Linked DNA regions of Homo sapiens: region 1 is linked to region 2. Evidence: promoter capture Hi-C in 16 types of primary human blood cells and fetal thymus (Javierre and others, 2016). All regions are on one chromosome and are shown on one strand. The core of a region is centred on a gene start or on the middle of the fragment in contact, and the rest is flanking DNA. Distances in the headings are between cores, read along the strand shown.

Region 1 (4,635 bases), core at 117-2,616, 220 kb after region 2:
CTCGACCCCCAGGCTCCTGGATCTGCATTTTATCCCAAATATAAGCATAGTGTTTTAATGAAGCCCCGTGAACTTAGAAGGAAGGAAAAGGGGTGTGGGACAGGTGACTGGCTGGAGGGAACAGAATCCCCAGGGGAAGGCCCCACCTGGCACATTCCCCGCCTCATCCTGCTCCAGGCCTGGGATACTCCACAGTGCTGCCTGTGCCCTTCCTAAAGACACAGCCCCACTCCGGGAAGGAGCCCAGCAGGCGGGACACAGGCTAGCATTTTACCGATGGGCACTTTGCTGCCTTTCAGCTCAGGAAGCTGTGAGATAGAGAAGATCGTGGGCTCAGAAATAGACAGTACGGGAAAATTCGCTTTTCCTGGTAAGTGCAGTTGCCCTGTGATGGCAGGTGGAACCCGGCTGTGCACACAGCTAGGCCTTATTGTTCCCCATGCTGTTCCCTGCACTGTTCCCCATGCTGTTCCCTGCACTGTTCTCTGTGCTGTTCCCTGCACTGTTCCCCATGCTGTTCCCTGAACTATTCCCTGTGCTGTTCCCCATGTTGTTCCCTGCACTGCTCCCTGCACTGTTCCACATGCTGTTTCCTGCACTATTCCCCATGCTGTTCCCTGCACTTTTCTCTGCGCCATTCCCCATGCGTTCCCTGCACTGTTCCCTGCACTGTTCCCCATGCTGTTCCCTGCGCTGTTCCCCATGCTGTTCCCTGCACTGTTCCTCATGCTGTTCCCTGCGCTGTTCCACATGCTGTTCCCTGCGCTGTTCCCCATGCTGTTCCCTGCACTGTTCCCCATGCTGTTCCCTGCAATGCTCCCTGCACTGTTCCCCGCACTGCTCCCTGCACTGTTCCCCATGCTGTTTCCTGCACTATTCCCCATGCTGTTCCCTGCACTTTTCTCTGTGCCGTTCCCCATGCATTCCCTGCACTGTTCCCTGCACTGTTCCCCATGCTGTTCCCTGCAATGCTCCCTGCACTGTTCCCCGCACTGCTCCCTGCACTATTCCCCATGCTGTTCCCTGCACTTTTCTCTGTGCCGTTCCCCATGCATTCCCTGCACTGTTCCCTGCACTGTTCCCCATGCTGTTCCCTGCACTGTTCCCCATGCTGTTTCCTGCACCGTTCCCCATGCTGTTCCCTGCAGGGTTCCCTGCACTGTTCCCCATGCTGTTCCCTGCACATTTCATGCCCCAGACCTTCCCATTCTCCCACCAACACACTGGATCATCCTTCAAAAGCTTCTGTAGTGTCTCCAACCACTCAAGTGCTGGGACTGGGTGGGGGCAGGATGGAGTTAGACCCTGCAGACCCTGGCCTTCGAGGTCCGTCCCCCTCAGACGTCTCCCCCAACGCCATGGCCGGCTCTTGAAGGCCACAGAGAGATCCACGTGCTGGACACCGACTACGAGGGCTACGCCATCCTGCGGGTGTCCCTGATGTGGCGGGGCAGGAACTTTCGCGTCCTCAAGTACTTTAGTAAGCTTGGCCCTGGGGGGCTCTGCCCAGCTGCTGCTCTCCCAGGGACTGCCCGCCCAGCCCCCCTGTGCCCCACAGCTCGGAGCCTTGAGGACAAGGACCGGCTGGGGTTCTGGAAGTTTCGGGAGCTGACAGCAGACACTGGTCTCTACCTGGCGGCCCGGCCTGGTGAGCCCAGGGGCCTTGGGGTGGAGGCTGGGCTGGGCCCTGTGGGCTGACTCTGCAGCTCCTCATGCTGGCCTATCCTGCAGGGCGGTGTGCCGAGCTCCTGAAGGAGGTGAGCCTGACCCCCGACCCTGGCCTGTGCTGAAGTTCCCGGGCCCCTGGCCCAGTCCCTGGCCCTGTCAGGAGCCCCCGTGGCTCCGCCTCCCGGCCCTGGGCTGGGCCTTCTCACCCCTTCCTGTGAACAGGACACCAAACACCACTGGTGGGCAGCTCCAGAGATGAGTCTGTCTCCTGGTTTGGAAAGAGCTGGAACCTCCAGGGTGGTGACCCTAGGCTGCCAGGCAGGGACCCTGGGAGGCTGGGGTCACGGGGTGCAGAGCTGGGTGGGGCAGGGGAGCAGAAATGGCGCCTTTTCTTCGGTGTTCTGTGCAGGACTGCCGGCTGCTTCTGCCCCCGAAGGTCCCGTCGGCGGCGGGGCACAGATCCTGCGGGCGCTGCCTCAGGGCTCCCATGTTGGGCACTGCGAGAACCCAGTGTCTCCCTCACCTCGCTTTGTCTTGGCCCTAGAGGCTGGGCCTGTTACCCCATTTTGCAGATTGAGAAGGCGCTCAGGGAGCTGGGTGCTTTGCGCAAAACCAGGCAGCGAGGACAGAAGTCCCGCCGTGTGGCCCTCATCGAAGCCCCGTGGGGCCTCCAGAGACCACACGGGCCTGAGCCCCTGCACTTCTGTGTCGCAGGAGCTGATTTAATGGAGTTCCTGCCTCAGACCACAAGGTTCGGAGCGCCCGCCCACCCCTGCCCCTCCTGGGCACCCTGCCCACCAGGTCACCTGCACCTGCTCTGAATAAACTGTGAAGTCAAGCCACTGCCTGGTGTGTCCTTCCGGAGGGCCGATGGGTGACAGGTGTGGGGGGACTCACCCGCCCCAGGTCTGGCAACAGGAGGTGTGTTTTCCGTGGTTACTGGACAAACAGTGCAGCTCACGTGCAAGGCAGCAACCCCTGCCCTCCCGCCCTGCTAGGGTCGTGGTCAGGCTGCCCCAGGGTATAGACCAGAGACAGAAACAGGGCTCCTGGTGGAGTCTCAGCAGGTCTGTCAAACGCATGGAGGCCACACCCCTCCTGCCTGCATCCTCCATGGCTCCCCACTGCCCAGGGCTCCAGGCTCACGGCCCGTGCTGAAGGCCCTACCCGATGGGCCCCGCTTCCAGCCTCCCTGGACCCCCAGCTGCCCAGCCCTGCTCAGTGTCCGCTTCCACAGTGGGCTGTCACCCCGTGGCCTCGGCTGCCACCAGCCGACTGCATCACTTTCTCCTCCCGCCTGGCCTGGGACACGGGAAGGGCAAGGAAAGTGACAGTGTCAGCCCGGAGGTTCTGCGCCCAGGCCCCTGGGGAATCAGCCGGTCCCCACATATGCAGGTGAGACAACCCAGGCTTATGAGGGTGGCTGCCTCGTCGGGGCGGCGGAAAATGATACCTGAGGTCGAGTGGTGCCGGGAGCTCTGGGGGAACAGCCCGAGTAGGGGGACCTCGCCAGCCCCCAGCACGGCCGGGACACTGGAAAGGCCCTGCTAGGAACAAGGGCTGCACCCTAGATGCGCCTCAAATCCAGAACTGTGCCCCCGAGACCCACAGGAGGGACATGTAGAGGCTGCATTCTGACAAGTTAGGGGCTCCTGGGAAACAGCCGTGACTTTGCGCAGCTGTGCCTGGCCGAAGCCCACGGGTTCAAGGAGCTTCGCCTGGACTTGGATTTCCTGCTGGAGGGGCTGTCACTCTCGCTGTCAGCTCAGGCTCCCGTGACAAAATACCCCAGACTGGGCACCTTAAACAACAGAACTGTATTTCCTCACCGTTCTGGAGGGTGGAAGTCCAAGATTAAGGTGCCGGAAAGTGCAGTTTCTGGTGAGGGCTTCCTGCCCATTCGCAGAAGGCAGCCCCTCGCTGTGTCCTCACCTGGCAGGGAGCGCTCTCTGGGTGCCTCTTTTTCTCCTAATAAGGACATCAGCCTGTTAAATTAGGGCCACTCCCTTTGACCTCACTTAATCTCGATTGTCTCCTAAGAGTCCCATCTCCTGAAACAGTGACCATGGGATCTGGGGCTTCAACGCAGGAATTTTGGGAGGGCAGAATTCATCCCAGAACAAAAGTCAGTGCTGTTTAGAGGGTGACAGTAGATGCAGGGCTGCCGTCATCAACAACGTCCTGCCCAAAAGTCACTGGACGTCCAAAGACACAGAAAAGTATGACCTATGTTAAAAAAAAAAAGAAAAAAAAAGTTACTAAAAACTGACACCGAGAAGACCCAAAGTTGTATTCAGAAGATAAAGGTCTAAAACAGCCATTATAAGTAGTTAAAAGAAAAGCAAGATATACTCTAAGGAAAGAAATAGTGACACAATAGCATTAAAGGACTAACTAATTGATAAAGAATTAAGGAGTGAATGTAGGAGATCAGATCAGGAAATCAAGAGAGAAATGGAAACTATAAAAAAGAAAAAATTATGGAACTGAAAAGTACAATAAATGAAAAATTTACTGGAAAGACTAATAGGAGTTGGCCATGGCAAAAATAATGTCCATGAATTTGAGCACAAATCAATGTAAATTATCCAGTCTGAGGAACAGAGAAGAAAATGGTTGATAGCACCTCAAAGATATGTGGGGCAAGATAAAGAATGTAAACTAGCCTGAGAAAGAGAAGAGAGTGAGAATACATGAAGAAACAGTGGCCAAAATAACCCAAACTTGATGGAAACATCAACTTAGCCCAGAGGCTCAGAGAAACCCAGGCAGGATGAAAAAGAAAGCCTCACAAAAATCACACCTGGGGACATTATAGTCAAAGCACTGCCAACCAATGATTTGGATAAAAATTTAAAGGGATCTGTGGATTAAAGACAGGGCACATCCAGGTTTGGTGGCTCACGTCTGTAATCCCAGCACTTTGGGAGGCTGAGGCGGGAAGATCACTTGAGGTCAGAAGTTTGA
Region 2 (4,490 bases), core at 22-2,521:
GCCCCAGGAGCTGACCACGCCCCTCACATCCCCGCCCCAGGAGATGACCCCGCCCCTCACATCCCCGCCCCAGGAGCTGACCACGCCCCTCACGACCCCGCCCCAAGAGCTGGCCCCGCCCTTCATGTCCACAACCAGGGAACTGACCGCGCCCCTCACGCCCCATGCCCCCCTAGGAGCTGACCCCGCCCCTCACGTCCCCGCCCCAGGAGCTGACCACGCCCATCAGGCCCCCGCCCCGCCCCGGGAGGTGGCCCCGCCCCTCACGCCCCGCCCCAGGAGATGACCACGCCCCACTTCCCCCTCCCCCGGAGATGGCCCCGCCCCTCACGCCTCAGCCCCAGAAGCTGGCCACGCCCCTGACACCCAGCACCCCCGTCTGGCCACGCCCCTCCCGAGGACAGTCCCTCACCCTCGCACGCCGCCCACCAGCCAGCTTCGGCCCCTCCGCCCCCGGTCCCGATTCTGTGCCCTGGCTGAGCGCCTGGCCCATACAGCGGGCGGCAGAGGACGTCGCATTCCTGGCGGGGATCGGGGCGGGTCTTCGGCTCAGCTCTGCGGACCGCTGGGGTTCTCCTCGACGCCAGGGAGGGGCGCGCGGCGCGGGGACCCGCGCTCCGGCGCTTCCCCGAGCAGCTCCCGGGCGAGAGCGCGCGTCGCCGGCTGTCTGTGCGGTGCGCGTCCCTCCCAACCCCCACCGCGCACGGAGTGTTTGTCGCCATCCCTGTGCCCCACCCGCCCGTGTCCTGGCACCCAGGTGTGGAACGTGCGCTCGTGTGTCCTCTGGGGGTCGCGTGCCCACAGGGGTGGACGTGTCTGGCTGGCGTGGGCGCGTGTGTGGCCCGGTGTCTGCGTGGCCCATCAGGGGAGACGGGACGCGGTGCCCAGGGAGGGCTTCTCGCGGGCAGCCTCCTCGGGCGGCTACCCAGCCTCCTTCCTGCGCGCCCGCTCAGTCCCTGGCCGGCACTGCCCGGCACTGCGGGACTTCGCTCACTCCTCCCAGGGGGAAGACCCAGCCGGAAAGTGCCCTTCCCCTGACAGGGTCCTGTAGCCCTTGGGGATGACGCAGGAAAGCCCCTCACCTTGTCCTGCTGGAAGTTGGGCTGCACGGAGACCTGGGCCTCCGGTGCTGCCTGCAGGTCGCCCAGCACCCCCAGCAGGGCCAGTCCCATCCACAGTGTGTGATGAGTAGCCATTCTCCTGCAGCAGAGCGGGTGTCCGGGGCCTGGTGCCAGTGGTGTGGGAGAGCGAGGGAGGTGTGCAGGAGGAGCGGAGGGCACTGAGGAGACCCCTATTTATGGGCCAGGCTTGGCCTCCACCCAGGGCCCGGGGACAGCCCACTGAACACTCGTGATGCTGGGGGATGGGGTGGCCAGGCACAGCTGCAGCCTCGTCCCCCACAGGGCGCTTATGCAAGAGGCCTGGGCCTGCTGCCCCAGCTGAGGCAGCGTGGGGGTGAGGCAGAGGCCCCTGCCCACTGGTCCCAGAGACAGAGCTGGCAGGGACCTTGCCCACCCTCCTCCTGCTGGCAGGGCCCACCAACCCAGCGGCCCTGATAGGGCAGGGGCTGTGTTCCTCAGCCATGCCCGCCTCCGAGGCCTCTGGTGACTTCCCACTGGGGGCCAGGACCCACATCTCACAGCCCCTACCATCATTCCCTTTCCGAGCCCTGCCACCCCAGAAGGGGACACAAGCCCCACTTCCACCCTGAGAGTTTGGTCCTGAAACGCCCAGCAAGTGAAGTGTTGATGAGAAGCTCAGGCCAAGGTAGAGAAACTTGATCTGGCCCGCAGGGTCCCGAGGGCCAGGTTTGCTGGGCATGGCTTCCCCCATGGCCAGCTGTTGGGGCTCTGATAGTGACCCCTGGGTGCCCATTTCAGCCTGGGGCACCTTTGGGCTTGAGCACAGGCCCTATCCCTTGCCAGAGGCCCCAACTTCCCCCAGCAATCCCCCCACCCCAAGTCTGCCCCCCGCCGAGTCTGGGCCTCCCCACCCCGAGTCTGGTCCAGACTCGGGAGCACCCCGTGGGGCTGTCCTGTTACCCCAGCGCTGCACCCAGCTCCTTGGGCCCCTCCAGCTCGTTGGCCCTGGCTGGGGCCCTGTCACAGGCCGTCACAGGCAGGCACATGTGGTGGGCCCTCTCTGGATTCTGTTGGGACTGAGCTTCCCTGGCAGGCGTGGTGGGTGAGCGCTGCCGCTGGTCTGAAGGTGAGCCCGGGTGGGGAGCTGGGAAATGTACATGAGAGCAGGAGTGAGTCGGATGGGGTGGGGTGGTGAGCTTCTACGGGGCTGCTGGCGACCACTGGGGGCCGGAGCCCGTCTTCTTCCTGGATTCTGTGGCCCATCCCTTGCTGGGGGCGCACGAGCCCTGGGAGTGGGCTGGTGTGGACTGCTTCCTTGTTCCCCTTCCCCAGTGCCCGGGGGTCAAGGAGCCCAGACTGGGGGAGGCGCATGCCTATGTAGCAGCAGGGGCTAGTGGGCAGCACTGGTGTCAGGGCTGGTGGGGGTGGCCGGGTAGCATCCCAGGCAGAGGCCAAGGTGAGGGAGTGAGTCCCAGGGAGCCGGGAGGCACCTGAGAGGCAGGGAGAAGGAGGGCAGCGGTGCAGGGGGGCCAAGGCAGTCCTGAGAACCCACTCCTCCACCTGGACCTCCTATCAACCCCTGCCTGAAGCAGCAGCGTGCTGCTAGCTCAGATGCCATCTGTGCCATGGGCTGAGAGGGAGAGTCTGTTGGAACAGATAGGGGTGGGGTGCCTAAACCCGGGACCCCGCGTGGCCCGCAAGCCTGGCTCAGCTACAGAGCTGGGGGCTGCCGTCAGGACAGGGGAGGGGCAGGAAGAGAGTTGCGGCTGGGATATCACCACAAGACTGGCCTCCTGCCCGCTGCCAGCTGAGTCCTGGCTGTCATTCCACTCTGGTGGGGCTGGTGGCTCGCTGACTGGCCTGGCTGGAGGTCCCAACCCAGGCTAGGCTGGTCCAGGACAAGAGCGCCTCCCGGTGGTGAGCAAGCTCTGGGGTGTGGTGGCGGGTGGCCCGGGGCAGGGAGACCCAGGACACGTGGCTCTGGGTCTGAATGGCTTCCGTCTGGGCAGGCCTGGGTCACCTGCCAGGGAGGGACTCTGAAGTCTGATGGGGCCGGGTCCTCCCATAGCCAGAGGGGTTCCCAGGGATCTCGGGTGTCCAGCCCTCAAACCCAGTGCCTGGAACAGGGACCAAGCCCCTCCTCTTCCCCATTTTCTAGTGGGCTGCAGAAAGCCCAGCAGGTCCCATGTCCCTTCTCCTCCCTGACCAGTCGTTACCGAGACCATATGGTCGTTGGCGCCTGGAGAGCTGGAAGAGCTAACAGGATCATGCTTCGGTTCAGGACGGACTCCTCAGTCCCTGTGGTCAAGATGGCCAGCAGGTGGTCAGAGACACTCCCCAGACACGGCTGAGTGAGGACCAGTGAGTGGGAGCTGCCCACGAGCCCTGATTCATGGGTGCACCTGGGCCCACCCGAGGGCTGGAGATTCATCTCTCACCACATCCAGGAAGGGCTGGGCAGTTGCCAGCTCCTGGCACGCCAGATTTCTCCCCTCCTCCCCCGGCTAGGACTGTGCAAGGTGGACAGGGGCAGGAGGGACCTTCGCAGAGCCTCTTGCAGCTTGGGCAGGGACAAGGACCACCCTGCACACTCTCTGTGCCCTTCCCTTTGCTCTGAGCTTGGCTGCCAGGCAGGACCTTAGTGGAGCCTGGCGGAGGGCTGGGCAGGAAGAAGGCTGGCCGCCCCACCCTGCTCTCTGGGAACCAGTCTCTTTGAGTCACAAAATGCAAAGACTTGGCCTCCACCCTAAGAGGTCACCAAGGCCATCCCCCTGCCTGCGGCCCAGGCAGGTCATGGACAAGCCTGGTGGCCTGGGCCTAAGCTCCCAGAACTGACCCCAACCTTTTCCTGGAGGGAAGCTGTCTCCACCCTGGGGCCCCGGCCAGCATCCTCCGGGGGCAGTGATGACCCTGTCCAGCATCCCCACCAATGGTTTGCCCTTGAGGGCCGAGGCTGTCCCAGTGACTGGTGGGAGCTGAGCTCGACTGAGTGTCCACCAGCCTCAAATAAACTCATGGGGACCTCGTGAGCCCCACCCACCTGCAGCCTGGGATCAACTCCCCCAGCCTGGGACTGGGGAGGGGCAGCCTCTACACCCCACCTTTCAGAGGTACCCAAGCCTCACGGCCCCAGAGGCTCACTCCTGCCAGAGCTGCCCCGCTGAGGATCTTCCATAGGGAAGGGCAGTGCCCGGGATCACTGAGACGCTGTGGAGTGTTCTGGACAAGTCAGGGGCAGAGCAGGAGCACCCCTGAGATTGTAGCCGGGGAGACCAGGGCCGGGTGCGGTGGGGGCAGCTCAGGGCTCCTCTAGGGGCAAGAAATTCTCCCCAAGGCCTCCCTGCGTCAAGGGAGCTGCTCTGTGATTGAAGGAGGCCTGAGTGGACGGGCCACGTGGGACAGCCCCTC

Evidence for each region. Contacts are between HindIII fragments. The CHiCAGO score rates a contact against its expected background, and 5 or more counts as called.
Region 1: a contact is called between a fragment that was not itself captured here and the fragment with the promoter of PTGDS in region 2, in 3 of 17 cell types (M1 macrophages, activated CD4 T cells and endothelial precursors). The highest score is 6.4, in M1 macrophages.

What each region holds. Positions count from the first base shown.
Region 1 is chr9:136,752,257-136,756,891 of GRCh38, reverse strand. LCN8 (lipocalin 8) reads left to right here. Exons shown (of 7, transcript NM_178469.4): 3 at 300-370; 4 at 1,376-1,480; 5 at 1,559-1,648; 6 at 1,732-1,757; 7 at 2,383-2,506. The coding sequence ends at 2,394. Among named protein-coding and RNA genes, the nearest start is that of LCN8, 3.7 kb to the left of the region's middle. The HindIII fragment of the contact is 243 bases long and covers 1,245-1,487 here.
Region 2 is chr9:136,974,285-136,978,774 of GRCh38, reverse strand. It overlaps PTGDS (prostaglandin D2 synthase), which reads right to left and starts at 1,271. Exons shown (of 7, transcript NM_000954.6): 1 at 1,083-1,271. The coding sequence starts at 1,196. It also overlaps LOC124902312. RefSeq lists an enhancer at 1-211. The HindIII fragment of the contact is 17,671 bases long and covers 1-4,490 here.